Regions from separate parts of the Homo sapiens genome. Here region 2 is linked to region 1. The links are contacts of gene promoters, found by promoter capture Hi-C in blood cells and fetal thymus (Javierre and others, 2016). All regions are on one chromosome and are shown on one strand. Each heading gives the region's core, a stretch centred on a gene start or on the middle of the fragment in contact. The rest is flanking DNA. Distances are from core to core; before and after follow the strand shown. Region 1 holds the start of STYX (serine/threonine/tyrosine interacting protein). Region 2 holds the start of RTRAF (RNA transcription, translation and transport factor).

Region 1 (7,638 bases), core at 1,694-4,193:
TTGTTAATTTGGCACATCACTTATTTTCAGTAAGGTACAATTTCTTCACCTGGAATGTGGGACTCCTCTACATTATTTGTAAGGTTGCTTGCAGTTAAGTGCTGAAATTACTGAATCATTTTGAGGATATGAAAGCATACTCCTTCGCGGTGGCTCAAGCCTGTAATCCCAGCACTTTGGGAGGCCGAGGCAGGCGGATCACTTGAGGTCTGGCGTTCCAGACCAGCAGGGCCAACATGGTGAAACCCCGTCTCTACTAAAAGTACAAAAATTAGACGGGAGTGGTGGCGGGCGCCTGTAATCCCAGCTACTCAGGCGGCTGAGGCAGGAGAATCTTTTGAACGTGGGAGGCGGAGGTTGCAGTGAGCGGAGATCACGCCACTGCATTCCAGCCTGGGCAACAAGAGTGAAACTCCGTCTCAAAAAAATAAATAAATAAATAAAAGCATACTCTTCATTCACATTATTGTATGTTAAGTATAAATTCATTTTTATAACTAGCCTAAATATGACCTCCTGTTTTCTAAGAGTATATTGGCCGGGCGCGGTAGCTCACGCCTGTAATCCCTGCACTTTGGGAGGCCAAGCCAGGCGGATCACAAGGTCAGGAGTTTGAGACCATCCTGGCCAACATGGTGAAACCCCGTCTCTACTAAAAATACAAAAAAATTAGCCCGGTGTGGTAGCGGGTGCCTGCAGTCCCAGCTACTCGGGAGGCTGAGGCGGGAGAATGGCGTGAACACGGGAGGCAGAGCTTGCAGTGAGCCCAGATCGCACCACTGCAAGATCATTCCAGCCTGGGCGACAGAGTGAGACTCTGTCTCAAAAAAAAAAAAAAAAAAGCTGGGCCTGGCGGTGCGCGCCTGTAATCCCCAGCTACTCAGGAGGCTTAGGCAGGAGAACTGTTTGAACCGGGACCCGAGGCAGAGGCTGCGGTGGGCTGAGACAGCGCCACTGCACTCCAGCCTGGGGCAACAAGAGTGAAACTCTGTGTCAAAAAAAAAAAAAAAAAAAAAACCATGAGTATATTCTTGGGCCAGGTGCAGTGGCTCACACCTGTAATCCCAACACTTTCGGAGGACAAGGCGGGAGGATCTTGAGGCCAAGAGTTCGAGACCAGCCTGGAGAAAAAACCCATCGCTACAAAAAAAAAAAAAAAGAAAAATTAGCCCGGCATGGTCCCAGCTACTCCAGAGGCTGAGGTGAAAGGATGGCTTGAGCATGGGAGTTCGAGACTGCAGTGAACCGAGATCACACCACTGCACTACATTTTGCAACAGTGATAGTCACAAACAAAGTCTCTACTCTTAAAACAAATGTAATTGTCAAGCATCAATACCACAAGAGAGCCCTCCAAACAAAAATGTGAACCTAGGCCGGGCGCGGTGGCTCATACCTGCAATTTCAGCACTTTGGGAGGCCGAGTCGGGCGGATCACAAGGTCAGGAGATCGAGACCACCCTGGCCAAAATGGTGAAACCCGTCTCCCCTAAAAACACAAAAATTAGCTGGGCGTGGTGGTGCGCGCCTGTAGTTCCAGCTACTCAGGAGGCTGAGGCAGGAGAATCGCTTGAACCCGGAAGGCGGAGGTTGCAGTGAGCCGAGATCGCGCCACATTGCACTCCAGCCTGGCGACAGAGCAAGACTCCGTCTCAAAAAAAAAAAAAAAAAAAAAGTGAACCTCCAATGAAGATATTCAATAGAATAAATATTCGGAATAAATTGAATGGTCTCCTAAAAATAGGGCTTTATTTTTCCCAACTACTTTAAAGGTATTTTTAACTAGCGATGTTAGATTTTCTTTCTTAATCCTACTAAAGTATAGCTGAGTATCTTCGTCTTGTTAATTTAGCCTCCAGAAAATTCTAATTTAGTAGTCTGCAATGCCGTAAAATGTTAAACTAGCAACAGATGAAAAAAAATCCGAGTAGAAACAGCAGGCAGGGATCTAAGGTGGAGTAAAAATAGCCACAAATTAGAAACCAGGAGAAAAGGTATATAGTATTTTACTTTCAATATTAATTTTCCTCCAAAGGTCAAGATTTCTGATTAAGAGTTCTCAGATTAAGATGAGCTAGCTTTGAGACACTTTGTTGTGCGGGTCATAGCTTTGTCTAAAAACAAACAAAAAACTTTGGGAAACTTTTCGAAGGCGCGCTTCCAAACTTCAGGCGCCGAGTCTATTTCACATGTGGGGCCATGTGTCCCACAAGTGAATCGTTTACACCACAGATATTCCTCAAAAGGAGACTAAACCAACTTCGCTCTCTTGTTACTTTGACAATAAAAGAGGAACCTTACTCCAGGTCAGTCCTGGATGCCAAGCCTAGGGACTAAGGGATTGCTTTTCCTCTTCTCAAATGTAAGTACACCAGACGCTGCCCCTCCGCGGGGTCTGGAGAGGACGAGCAACTCAGTGGGGATTGGAGCCGACCGCTCGGCTTCAGAGGTCCCGGGACGCCCTTAGGAGGCAGGGCGCCCGTACAGGTGGCGGCTAAGACGGTTGGGGACTGGGGTCGCCCCTCGGCCGGAGCCACAGGGAGAGGCCTGTGCGTGGCAGCCACGGGAGCGACTCACCTCGGCGTCTTCCTTGCACTGTGGAAGGGAAGGGAACTCCAGCTTCACGTCCTCCATGGTGCTGGCCCGCGGGCTGGTGGGTGGGGTGGGAGAGTGTTACACAGCCGGCCGACCCTCGGGCTGGCTGCGGCGGCGGAAGGAAGGAGGGCCGGCGGAGCGGAGGGCTGACAGGAGGGCGGCGGGATTACAACTAACACACGCAGACTACAGGGTCCCAGTGACTCCAGCAGCGGCGGCGGCGAAGACAGGGAAGAGGAGGGTCGGGCGTCTTACACCCGGCCGCCATGCCGCTGCCGTCTCCCTCCCCCAGAGTCTCCGTACCCCTCAGGCCGCCCAGGATCCAGCACAGGAACCAGCCCGACAACCGTCTCCCCGCCTCCTTCCCGCCCCCTCCACCCGCGTCGCCTCAGCCAATCCCAGCCCACGCTCGCCTTCTGCCCGCCCTCCGCCGCCGCCAGGTGTCAGCGCGCCACCGCCCTGCTCCGCCCCTTCGCTAGAGCGCAGACGCTTGGGGGTGGGGGGGGCGGAGCCTCGGATGCTGCTAGGCCACAGCTCACCCGGCGTGGAGGAGGCGGGGCTGCGGTGGGACAGGACGAGTGAAGGTCCTGGGAAAGGCAGTGGGGCGGTCCGAGCCAGCTCCGCCCTTTCCAGACAGGACGTAGAGCCCTTCTTTAACATAAGAACAAACAGGCAAAACAGGCTACCCACCAGTGGCATCCGAAAGGAAAGCTATAGTTTCTCCCCTCTCAAAATTCTGCGCAATCTATGCTGAGTTTATAACCAAATGACTAATAAATGAAGAGTTCAATTTAAAATCACGTGGTGCCATACAGAAAATAAAATACCCATCACCTTTAAGCAAAGAATTAAACGGCTCAATTTAAAATTTTTTAAAGTATTTTAAGAGTACTTGAAAATACAACTCAGTTTAGATTACCTAGAAAATATCAAGAATGGCAACTAGAAAAAAATCAGAAAAAGGAACTGATAGCTGACTCAGTAAATTGTATATAATACTGTAAAATTTCTTCCATTATTATATTTTGAAATAAAAATAATAAACCAGATGGCTTTCAATATCTTTTAAAAGGAGTTTGCCAGCCTGAGCAAAATAGTAAGACCCCCCTCTCTAAAAAACAATTTTAAAATTCCCTGGGTGTGGTGGCGTTATGCCTGTAAACCCATGGTGAAAAGATTTGGGCCGGGCGCGGAGGCTCACGCCTGTAATCCCAGCACTTTGGGCGGCTGAGGCGTGTGGATCACCTGAGGTCGGGAGTTTGAGACCAGCCTGACCAACATGGAGAAACCCCGTCTCTACTAAAAATACAAAAATTAGCTGGGTGTGGTGGCGCATGCCAGTAATCGCAGCTACTTAGAAGGCTGAGGCAGGAGAACCGCTTAAATCCGGGAGGCGGAGGTTGCAATGAGCTGAGATAGTGCAATGGCACTACAGCCTGGGCAACAAGAGCGAAACTCCATCTCAAAAAAAATCAAAAATAAAAAAAGAAAGAAAGGATTTGTACACCAAATTGATTCTTTAAAAAACCACCGCCAGCACAAAGGTAAAAGGCAAGATAGTCACTCCTTAACTAAATGCAAATTATAAGTGAAAAGATCACATAGATATTTGACTTAAACCTCCCCCTACATTCTACTTTTTGTCACATAAAATGCACTGCCAACACATAGAAATAGAACTGTACAATAATTTGAGTATGAGATGGCTAACTTGACCACTCCATTTTCTATTTTAACTGTTCATCTTCTAAAATTATAAAAAGGCACATAATATCCTGCTAGGAAGTTTTTAATTTGAAGAATTATTGTATAATTAGCTAGGTCATGTATTTTTGGTTCTTTAGTGTTTATGAAACTGAAGTTGTCTTTTCTTTTCACCAGCATCTTTAATAATTATTGATGCCCAATGATGATTCCTTTGTGTACTTTGTTATAGCTTTTATTGCCAGATGATATAAGAATCATGTATAGGTAACAGAAATCATGTTTTGAACATTTCTGACACTCCTACATCCCCTACATCATACACTCTTAGCCAGGTATCCATACATACCTAAAGAGTCCTTGGATGAGCTTGGGAAACAATAAATTTCCTGAAATTATAGTATACGCAAAATTGTATGTTAGAATTTTTCCTGGAAGAGGGTCCAGACCTCCACATCCTCAACAGGGACCTATCGTCTTACATAAACCAAGAAAACCCAGTCACATATTAGCAAATATTACGTTGAATCATACTCTTTAAAAAGTTATGGATGTGCATGTATATTTTCAATTAACCAACAATGAGCTTAATCACAGTAGATGAAGAATATGTAAACACTTTCTGAAAGGAGGAGTACAGACATACCCACACATCCATGTTTTATTTAAGAAGATGATCTTATGAACATTAAGTATGTGTACTATTTTAAAATAATATTCAAAAATCCACAATCCATCTGGGTTATCAAATAGTTTACTTGCTAAAGAACCTAAAGGACCACAGTAAATATACTCAGAAAAGACAAGAATATATATGTAGGAGAACTGAATCAAACAGATTTTATTCAACTTTTTAGATGAGGAAAACAAATGATACAAAATAAGTCATAAGAAATGCTTTCTTATACCACTATCTCAAACCACTTTCAATATTTTACAAAATGCTCACGCAGCAAATATGAAAAGCTTCAACACTTTCCCTTTGTAACTTGCTGCAATAAATGCAACTTTAACAAACATACAAATTTCTTCTGTATCTTAAAAGTTGAATTACTAATTTTTATGATGTTACTCATATTTTTATTCATATACTTTTAATGACATCATTACCAATACATACATTATTTTCTTTAACTTTATTTTTACAATAAGCCAACATCTGTCATGCAGCCATCAAAAATCTTACAGTAAATTACACAGGTTTGTAGTCCAATTTAGACTCCAGCTTCTTAGAATCAGCCACTTTTCTGACTGCTTTCATGAAGTCTTCCTGTACTACAAAATCATGATCAGCACGAATTGCGAACATACCTGTAGAGAATAAAACAACATGACTGCTATATATCACATATGAATTATATGTTCATTATAAGAAAAACAATATAATTCTATGGAATAAATGTGAAGCTTAGATTTATTACTTCTGAGCCAGTAGTTGTAATTTGCTAAAAACCACTATCTTTTTTCAATTAAAATCCACAGGCCGGGTGCGGTGGCTCACGCCTGTAATCCCAACACTTTGGGAGGCCAAGATGGGCAGATTGCAATGTCAAGAGATTAAGACCATCCTGGCCAACACGGTGAAACCCCATCTCTACTAAAAATACAAAAAAAAAAAAAAATTAGCTGGGCATGGTGGCGCGCGCCTGTAGTCCCAGCTACTCGGGAGGCTAAGGCAGGAGAATGGCTTGAACCCAGGAGGCGGAGGTTGCAGTGAGCTGAGATAGTGGCACTGCACTCCAGCCTGGCAACAGAGCGAGACCCCATCTCAAAAAAAAAAAAAAAAAAAAATCCATAGCGGTGTTGTGATTATGTTCTAAAACAAAAACAGGTATGACCATTATATGAATATTTAACATCCGGTTCAAGGCTGGGCACGGTGGCTCACACCTGTAATCCCAACACTTTGGGAGGCCAAGGTGGACGGATTACCTGGGGTCGGGAGTTCGAGACCAGCCTAGCCAACATGGTAAAACCCCGTTTCTACTAAAAACACAAAAATTAGCTGGGCGTAGTAGTGGGCATCTGTAACCCCAGCTACTTGGGAGGCTGAGGCAGGAGAATCGCTTGAACCCGGGAGGCAGAGGTTGCAGTGAGCCAAGATCGCACCACTGCACTCCAGTCTGGGTGACAGAGTGAGGCTCTGTCTCAAAAAAATAAAATAAAATAAAATCAGGCTTAAATGGTCCCTGTATCTGATTGTAGCTCTTAATAAAAACAAGCATAAAAAACCGAAGCAATCAAAACTACCAACACATACACATTTTAAGCGTAACTTAACTTGACAGGAAGCAATTTGCTGGAAGGCACACATTTATGGGGGAAAAAAAATCTTGAGTAAGTTTGATAGCCATTCTTTGTTAATAATCAAAAACGTTGAGAATAGGGAATCATATAGAAAGCCAACAGCGGGTTTTAGCAAAACTCGGAGTCATTATTCATGTGTTAAAATTTACCTAATTTATGTACAAATTGGTATTTTTATTTGATTCATATTTGAGTATCACAACTCAATTTTTTCCTTCAACTTTTTGACAAGTACCTTCTCAAACAGTATTTGACAAAGGGGTAAAAGTTTCCTTGTATGCAGTTTTTTAAACATTAGTTGTGTTATGGATATGGGTCCCAGATTTTGAGATAATCCTAACTCATGATAAACTAAAGCAGGTAAGTTTATTGCTATCTACTAATTAAATGAATTCTAAAATTTCCACTGAGGATCTGCCTGTATTGAATTTTCACTTACATAAAATGAGGGAGTTAATATAGAAGATTTCAAGGATTACTTCCTTTCTAGATTTCTACATAAGGAAACAATCTATGTTGTCCTAGAAACCGGGTGAATGGAAATGACTGATTTTTAAAAAATAACAAAGTTTCAAAACTTGTTTAGAAAGCTACAGTGAAACTAGGTAAGTTATTTTTGTAAACCTTGCACACATGGCTATTTTCCAAATCACTTTAGTGAATAAGTAAATCTGCACAAGAGATGCCTGGCCAGGCCTGGTAGCTTGTGCCTGTAATCCCAGCATTTTGGGAGGCCCAGGTGGGTGGATTACTTGGGCCCAGGAATTTGAGACCAGCCTGGACAACATGGTGAAACCCGTCTCTACAAAAAATACAAAAATTAGCTGGGTGTGGTGGCGCACGCCTATAGTCCCAGCTACTGGAAGATAAAGGAGAAATGATCAGGTCTGGGCTACAGGGAGCAGTGATCATGCCACTGCACTCCAGCCTGGGCCAGAGTGAGACTCCGTCTCAAAAGAAAAAATAAAATAGAGATGTATTATAATCCAAAAGAGATAATGTCAGGACCTGAACAGGAAGGGCAACTGTAGT
Region 2 (7,638 bases), core at 1,690-4,189, 740 kb after region 1:
AAATGTGAATAAATAATAGTATATCAAAGATAACTTCCTGATTTTGATCACTGTACTGTGGTTATATAAGACAAAGTTGTTTTTAGGAAATGCACTTTAAAGTGTTTAAGAGTAAAAAGGAATCATCTATAATTTACTATCAAATGGTTTGGAAAAAAATGGTGTGTGCCTCTGTGTAGAGAGAAGGATGAAGCAAATGAGGTAACACGCTACATTTGTAGACTTGAGGTATATGAAAATCTTTGTACTATTTTGTAATTTTTCTATACATCTGAAATTATACATTTAAAAAATTTCAGTTATTGATCATGTTGACAAGCTACCAAAAGGCTTCAAAAAATAGTAGAGCGCAAATAATAAAAACTCACAATGGTTTCAGCAAATTTTAAAATAAGTAACTTAAAAGTCAAGGAGGCAACATATCAATGTAAAACCACAAAAGAACATCAGCGCCTCCTACCGATTAGAGACAGTATTATTTGACCAATTTTCAAGTCTGTTTTTGCAATTCTGAATTTTAATAAACAAAACTTGTTTTCTAGCTTAGACTTTTAATATACTTTTGATACCATTCACCTTCAAGTATATGTTGACTTCCTTTTTCAATATTGAAAAATTTACATTCCACACACAAGCTTCTTTTATTCACTAAAAGAACATGCTATTACTGAGAAATACATGTACTTACTAAAGTCAACTGCAGGTATACATGACCATATGCATCTACCATTGAAGGTTAACGGGTTATAAAAATGGAACAAATAGAATAAAACAAATAAACTGAGATGTAAGAATTTGGGAATAAATGAAAAACAGTTTTGATAAGCTACAAATTGGCTCATATACAATTCCTACCAATCCAGAGCAGGGTAGATAAAAAGACCTTGTTAAAGGCCCTAAAATCAATACTACACTAAAGCCATAAGGCTTATGAATACATGTATTTTCTAAAGAAAGAAAAGTTTTTTTTTTTTAAATTAAATGGAAAAGTAAACGAAGTCTCAAATTGAGCTTTCCTTAAGATTTTTGCCATAAGGCTTCTGAAATTTAAGTCTGAGGCATCAGCAAAAAATTGGCTGATGCTCCAAATCAGTGTATGTAAACACTCACATATACTGCATTCGCCACACATTACTGAAATTGATAAGCACCTGTTGTGTGCAAGAAACTATGTCAGGTACTGTGACAGACACAATATTGACCTGTACCCCCCAAGATGTCCATGTCCTGATCCCTGGAACCTGTGTATGTGTTACCTTACATGGCAAGATTTGCAAATATGATAAAATTAAGGATCTTGAGATAGGGGATTATCCTGGATTATCCAGGTGGGCTCAGGAGGATCAGAGCCAGAGACAAAGTTATGACAATGGAAGCAGAATCAGATAAGAGACTGGAAAATGCTATGCTGCTAGACTTGAAGAAGGAAGAAGGGGCCAGAGTCAAGGAATTCAGGCAGCCTCTAGAAGTTAAAAAAGGAAAGAAACAGATTCCCCCGAGAGCCTCCAAAAGGAACCTGCCTTGCTGACAACTTGACATGAACCCAGTGAGGCTAATGTTGGCCTTCTCATTCTAAAATAATAAATTGTGTTTTCAGTCACTGAGTTTGTAGTAATTTGTTACAGCATCAATTGGAAGCTAAGAGAGGTACCATGTAGGAATCAAAGCTGAGTATCAGTTTACAAATTACTGGGACGAATAAGACATAGAAGCAAAATGGAAAGTGGTTAATGACTTAAAATGTATAGGGTTAAAAGCTATGGAAGTTCAGAGGGAAATTATACTGCTGCTAAGACATAAGACAGCATATGAGATGGATCTTAAAAAGATGGGTAGGATTTAGATGTGTAGATAGAATGAAATGGTATATTAGCCAAGGGAAAAGTGTGAACAAAGAAACAGAGGGGGAAATGGGATATAAACAGGAAGCACTATTATTCTAATTTAGCTGGGATGTCAAGATGTGAATACAGGTTGGATATCAGTCATCATTAACTACCATGCTAAGGAGCTTAAAATTCTTTTTATAGAAAATGGGAAATTAGTGTTTATGGATATGTATGTTTATTAATATGAATATGTAACTGGAACTGTTCTTTGGAAACAAGGAGTAAGTGGCATCCTAAAATAGATTAACGTTTCAGAAAGTTAGCTTGGTTGGCCATGCAGTTAAGAACAGAAGGTGACACTAATGGGAGATATTATAATACTCCTGGCAGAAAGTGACAAGAGCCTGAATTAGGATTATGCCAATGGGAATGAAGATACAACAAACATGAGAAAAAGTCAGTGTAGGTGGGATGAAGGGAAAGGGATAAGCCAAGATATAAAAAGGCTTCCAAAGTAAATAATTAAGAAGACTGTAACTAACCGAAAAACACAAAATGCAGGGGATGCAGATAAGATAATCAAATCTTGCATTTAGATGTTGGCAGGCCTTTCAAAATGAAATGGTCTAATAAGAGAAAACACCCGTTTAAAGAAAAATTGTTTTTACTATAGGTACTAACATTCAGAAGCTTCCAACCATAGAAGTATCTGTGCTAAGACAGTAAACATAAGTAATATATTCTGGCCTATAGAGTATTAATGTATATTGGCATTAGACATGTTTCAGTCTTTTGAGAAATTACCTACTGCAACAACACTTCAAAGTCCCATCAATTCTGGGACACTAAAAACAATTTAATTTGAAAGGCTAAGGTGCAGACCATATTATCAAAGTAGTGTTACTCTGTGAGAAGACAGTCAATTAGCCTTCTCCAGAGGGCACCATTTCCAAATTCTAACAGAAATATATAAACACCAATGAAAGACAATAAAAGTGCTTTTAACTTGTGATAAGAATAAACCAAAGGTAAAATAGTACTAGACAAAACAAACTGCAAAGTTCCCTACATTTTCACACTCCCTTTCCCATCTTTCCTCTCTCTTTAAAATACACATTCCCCACAAAACGTACCATTATCTCCATATTCAAGTCTAACAGCTAAACCAAGAAGCCAGTCAATAGCTTCTTGTCGATCTTGAATCTTGAAAGGACAGTTAACATCTCTGAGATACTGTGAGGGGGAAGAAAAGAAAACCACCAGTTTCATTATTACCATAAAGTCACAGAAAAAAGAATGGGAGAGTTGAAAGAGACCTTAGTTTGGATCTCTAACAATTTTTTAATAACATTACTACACTTTTGATGCAATTATATAACCCAACAGAAGGGAACATTTAAGTGTATCATCTTAAGAAAAAAAATAGAATACGACAACTTCCTCATTTTATAGATGAGAAAGCTGAGGCCTAGAGATTGACACTTGCCAAGGGTTACACAACTTACACCTGGGACTAGAATCTAAGCTTTCTGATTCCTAGTCTCAATACACATAGAGCAATTAACTAAAAAGAATAACTTTAAAAAGGATATACAATAAATCATTATCTATCTAAACCTTAACTTTCATATTATGGAAATGCCACTGAAAAGAGTAGCCATGTAACATACATGTAGGGTGTAACCAAGTAATTTAAATAAATGTCAGAAGCTGTATATTCAAATAAATGTTGCATATAATAGTATTATATGTAACATTAATTATATGTAATATAAGATTATAATAAAATCAACTTGAAGGATAATAACTGTTTAGGTTCTGATATGTTGAAATTATTCTTACTGTCATTCCAGGTGTTTCACATCAGAAATACGTGTGTGTATATGTACATATATACACACACATACATACATATTTCTTTTTTTTGAGACAGAGTCTTGTTCTGTTGCCCAGGCTGGAGTGCAATGGCACAATCTTGGCTCACTGCAACCTCCGCCTCCTGAGTTCAAATGATTCTCCTGGCTCAGCCCCCTGGGCAGCTGAGATTACACACATGCGCCACCACACCTGGCTAATTTTGTGTTTTTAGTAGAGACGGGGTTTCGCCACGTTGGCCCGGCTGGTCTCGAACCCCTGACCTCAGGTGATCCACCCATCTTGGCTTCCCAAACTGCTTGGATTATAGGCATGAGCCACCGTGCCCAGCCTAGACAATTTTTTATATTCTCCAGATACCTTTCTACATGCAGAATTCTGTACTGTCTTGTACACATGAATAGACCATAAAATGTAATATAAACAAACATAAAATCCTAAAAATATATTTCAAAGTTTTAAGAAGTCCACTGAAAATTTTAAAAATATTTTCTAAGAGCAAAGGAAAAGAATACAGTAGTATTAATAGTAGTAGTATAGAGGCATTGGCAGTAATAAGCTTATCACACTTGCTATGCGCCAGGGACTTCTGTGAACAATTACTCATTAAAAACAAAGCCACACTTATGAGATAGGTATCATTGTTACCCTCACTTATTGATGAAAAAATTGAGACACGGAAAGGTTAATAACAATGATGTAATTTATACAATCCCTAATTTATAAAATCACTGATTCTAGGGAGAAAGTGCCTAATCACACTGCTCTCGCAAATGAAAAACTTAGCCTTTTTCAAGAAAAATATCTCACTCATCAAATATAACTGATGAAAATGTTTAATGTAAGAAATGACACTAAAAGCATTTTTATTCTAATCTGAGAATTCTTTTTTATGCAAAAGTGTTACTAAAACTAAATCAATGGGAAAATGATTCAAGGCACAAAAATATGATATACCAGAGATCATTTAAGGACTATTTCCCTAGCATACAACAAGGGATATCTGTTTACATTAAATATAAGCATAAACACGACAGTCTTGGTTTTCAAGCATCTCAATAATGTCTTTTTTTGAGACAAGGTGTCACTCTGTCGCCCAGGCTGGAGAACCTCAGCCTCCCAATTAGCTGACACTACAGACACAGGCCAGCACACCCAGATAACTTTCTATTTTCTTGTAGAGACAGGGTTTCATCATGTTGCCCAGGCTGCTGTCAGAACTCCTGAGCTCAAATGATCTGCCACCTCAGCCTCCCAAAGTGCTGGCATTATAGGTGTTAGCCATCACACCTAGCCAATGTCTTCTTTTAATATAAGAAATAGTACTGTGTTTAACAAAAATTCTGATTTGGGCCATAAAGGGAAAGCGAAATATTTACATCATTATTTATTTAAGAAACTTCATGTTTCTAGAGAAAACTATTTCTACCTAATACTGAAAGCTTGGTAGGAAGACATAAAATAATTTGCTCTAAAAGCAAAAGACACATCTAAGAAAAAAGCAAAATCCCTGAAATCCAGCTTTCCTAACACTGATCATTATCATTTTTTTCTTAAAAGAAGAAAGTAATTTTAAGCTCATCTTCATGATTTTTCAGACAAACTCTCTGTATTTTTACTTTACTTCCTAATTCATTACCTTTTCAAAGAACTTGGGCCAGTCGCTGCTGTGGATGTTTCTTAAATTCCCTCTGTCTTCAATCTTGTAGTGCCTGATTTTCTGGTCTTCAAGCCAAACGATGAAGTTTCTAAATTCTGTTTCATCTGCAATAAAAAATATCACATAAATAACTAGAAGCACTACATAAAATACCTCCTTCTCAGGTATATGTTCAGATATATGTTCTTGTGGAATTTTCTTAACTTCAAAATACTAAATTAATTGAACCAAAAGAGGGAGTTGAAAGTACAGATTCTGGAGTTGAAAGTACAGATTAACAATGATCTGTTCAAATCCTGGGTCCAGATACTTACTGGTTGTGTGAACTTGGGATAATCACCCACATTTTCTGTGCCTCAGACTCTTCAGCTACAAAATGAGGGTGCTAATAGAACTTACCTCATAGAGTTATGAAGATTAAAAGAAGTTGTTTTATTTAAGAAGTTTCTTAAATAAAATAAATACGGATAAAAACAGTGCCTGGCACATAGTTTTGCTATTTAAGTGTTACATATTAATATTCCAGTTCCTTTGCGGACAGAAAGGGGAAGGAGGGCAAGGTTAAATTTATAGCAAAGTAATAAAGTAAAATATACAACAAAATAATAAGTAAAAGAAATTAAATGACAAAAAAGACACTGTGACAACTGTTGTCATGGAATGTTAACTGCACATTAAGTGCATAATTGTTTCGTTTAATCCTCCCCATACCTCTTTTGAGGTAGGTAATATCCCATTTTACAGATAAGAACATTGAGACTCAAAGATTCCAATCCAGAACAAGGCTCTATTGTCACTGATACTTTTTTGTTAAAGTAGAAAAACAATAGATTATAATTTGATATGCTTCTACAGGCGATCAACAAAACACTGTCATCCTGCTTAGAAATTATTTTCAATTTGTGAGTCAAATTCAAGCTTCCATTATAAGGTCTTGAGAATTACACAGTGGTCTGAGTATCACAAGTTATACTTGATCACTTTCAAACTTACCAGTCTATCACAGGCCACAACTATACAAAGGAAACGAGTAGTGGTGGGTAGCAGTTTAGTTACAGTGAGTAGCAACGTTATTACTTTTTAAAATTCTAATGCTGTAAAATCCCAAATACCTTTGTATTCACAATTCAACCTTCCCACTCATCTGCTATTAACTTTTTTGCAACACCACATAACACAACTAGCCCGTTACTACACGCGCTTACCCTCCCACTGTGATCGGTCCTGATTTCATTGTGTACTGTCTCAAACTGCTCAGTGGGTTCTGATTGCTTCCACCCCTCGTCCCTTTAGCTCCTGGCAGGCAGTGAACTAGTCTTCAAGTTACTCAGCACCTTCCTCAGAATCCAGCACCGCGCTGGCCCATAATTAGCAGGTGCTCAAGGTATCGCCTAATTACCCAGGGAACCATGGAGTTGAATAGTGAGTGAGAAAGACGAATGCTCTCCCTTTTATGTACAGAGAAGGTAGTTACGTGATGCTTGGAGTTAAGCAAGTGCAGAAAGTAACATGCCGAGACAGGAGTAGGTGAGAGGGCTTTAAAGGCGGGAAGGGGCGGCGAAGAGCCGAGGTACGTGGCGACCCAGAGGAGAGGGGCCCGGAGGCTGCCGGCGGAAACCAGGCCGCCGAGGGTCCCGACGGGGAGGTGGGGTGCGGGCACTGAGGCTGGGACCTCCGCCCAGGTCAGGGACACGCGGCCGGGCTGAGGCCGCCGCCTCACCTTTGCAGTTGAAGCCGGCGGGGTTGTGGTAGTCGAGAGCCGTCAACTTGCGTCGGAACATGGTCCCCGCTTCTCGCTCTGGTCCCCCGGGCCTCGGCCGGGAGAGAAGAAGCGAGGTGGAGCGGGAGGCGCAGGCACCGGCGACGCGGCGAGAGGGCGGGCAGGCGCTGAGTCGCTCCGAAATGACGGCGGCCTTCGCCAATCGTGGCTTAAAAGCGGTGGCCGCCGGCAAATGCCCACCAATCGCGGCTCCGGCTGGGGAGGCGGGGCCACGTCGGCGCACGTCGACGCTCAAATAAACTTTATTGTCAGCTTCCTGGTTGTACAATAGGCAGAAAACCACCGGGAAGCCACTTTCCTTTCTTTCTTGCTATAGCATGCAGAGAATAGTATATGTAGGCTTTTGGTATTCGCTGTACCTCCCGTTGGATTACAGAATTACTGTTTAGTGTTTTGAGTGCATTCATTCATTTTATTACTCCTCCTACATAACAGGTGCTCTTCTAACACTGGTAATACAAAGACTACAAAGCAAGGTCCCTATAGTAAGATGC

Evidence for each region. Contacts are between HindIII fragments. The CHiCAGO score rates a contact against its expected background, and 5 or more counts as called.
Region 2: a contact is called between a fragment that was not itself captured here and the fragment with the promoter of STYX in region 1, in 4 of 17 cell types (naive CD8 T cells, naive B cells, total B cells and 1 more). The highest score is 11.5, in naive CD8 T cells.

What each region holds. Positions count from the first base shown.
Region 1 is chr14:52,725,471-52,733,108 of GRCh38, reverse strand. STYX (serine/threonine/tyrosine interacting protein) reads right to left here and starts at 2,943. Exons shown (of 11, transcript NM_145251.4): 1 at 2,578-2,943. The coding sequence starts at 2,634. PSMC6 (proteasome 26S subunit, ATPase 6) reads right to left here. Exons shown (of 14, transcript NM_002806.5): 14 at 4,519-5,610. The coding sequence ends at 5,492. RefSeq lists silencers at 2,649-2,728, 2,799-3,258. The HindIII fragment of the contact is 7,384 bases long and covers 1-5,267 here.
Region 2 is chr14:51,989,147-51,996,784 of GRCh38, reverse strand. It overlaps RTRAF (RNA transcription, translation and transport factor), which reads right to left and starts at 7,239. Exons shown (of 8, transcript NM_016039.3): 1 at 7,085-7,239; 2 at 5,344-5,468; 3 at 2,963-3,062. The coding sequence starts at 7,145. LOC105370497 (a long non-coding RNA gene) reads left to right here and starts at 6,201. Exons shown (of 3, transcript XR_007064166.1): 1 at 6,201-6,266. RefSeq lists enhancers at 6,760-6,819, 7,160-7,454. The HindIII fragment of the contact is 835 bases long and covers 2,522-3,356 here.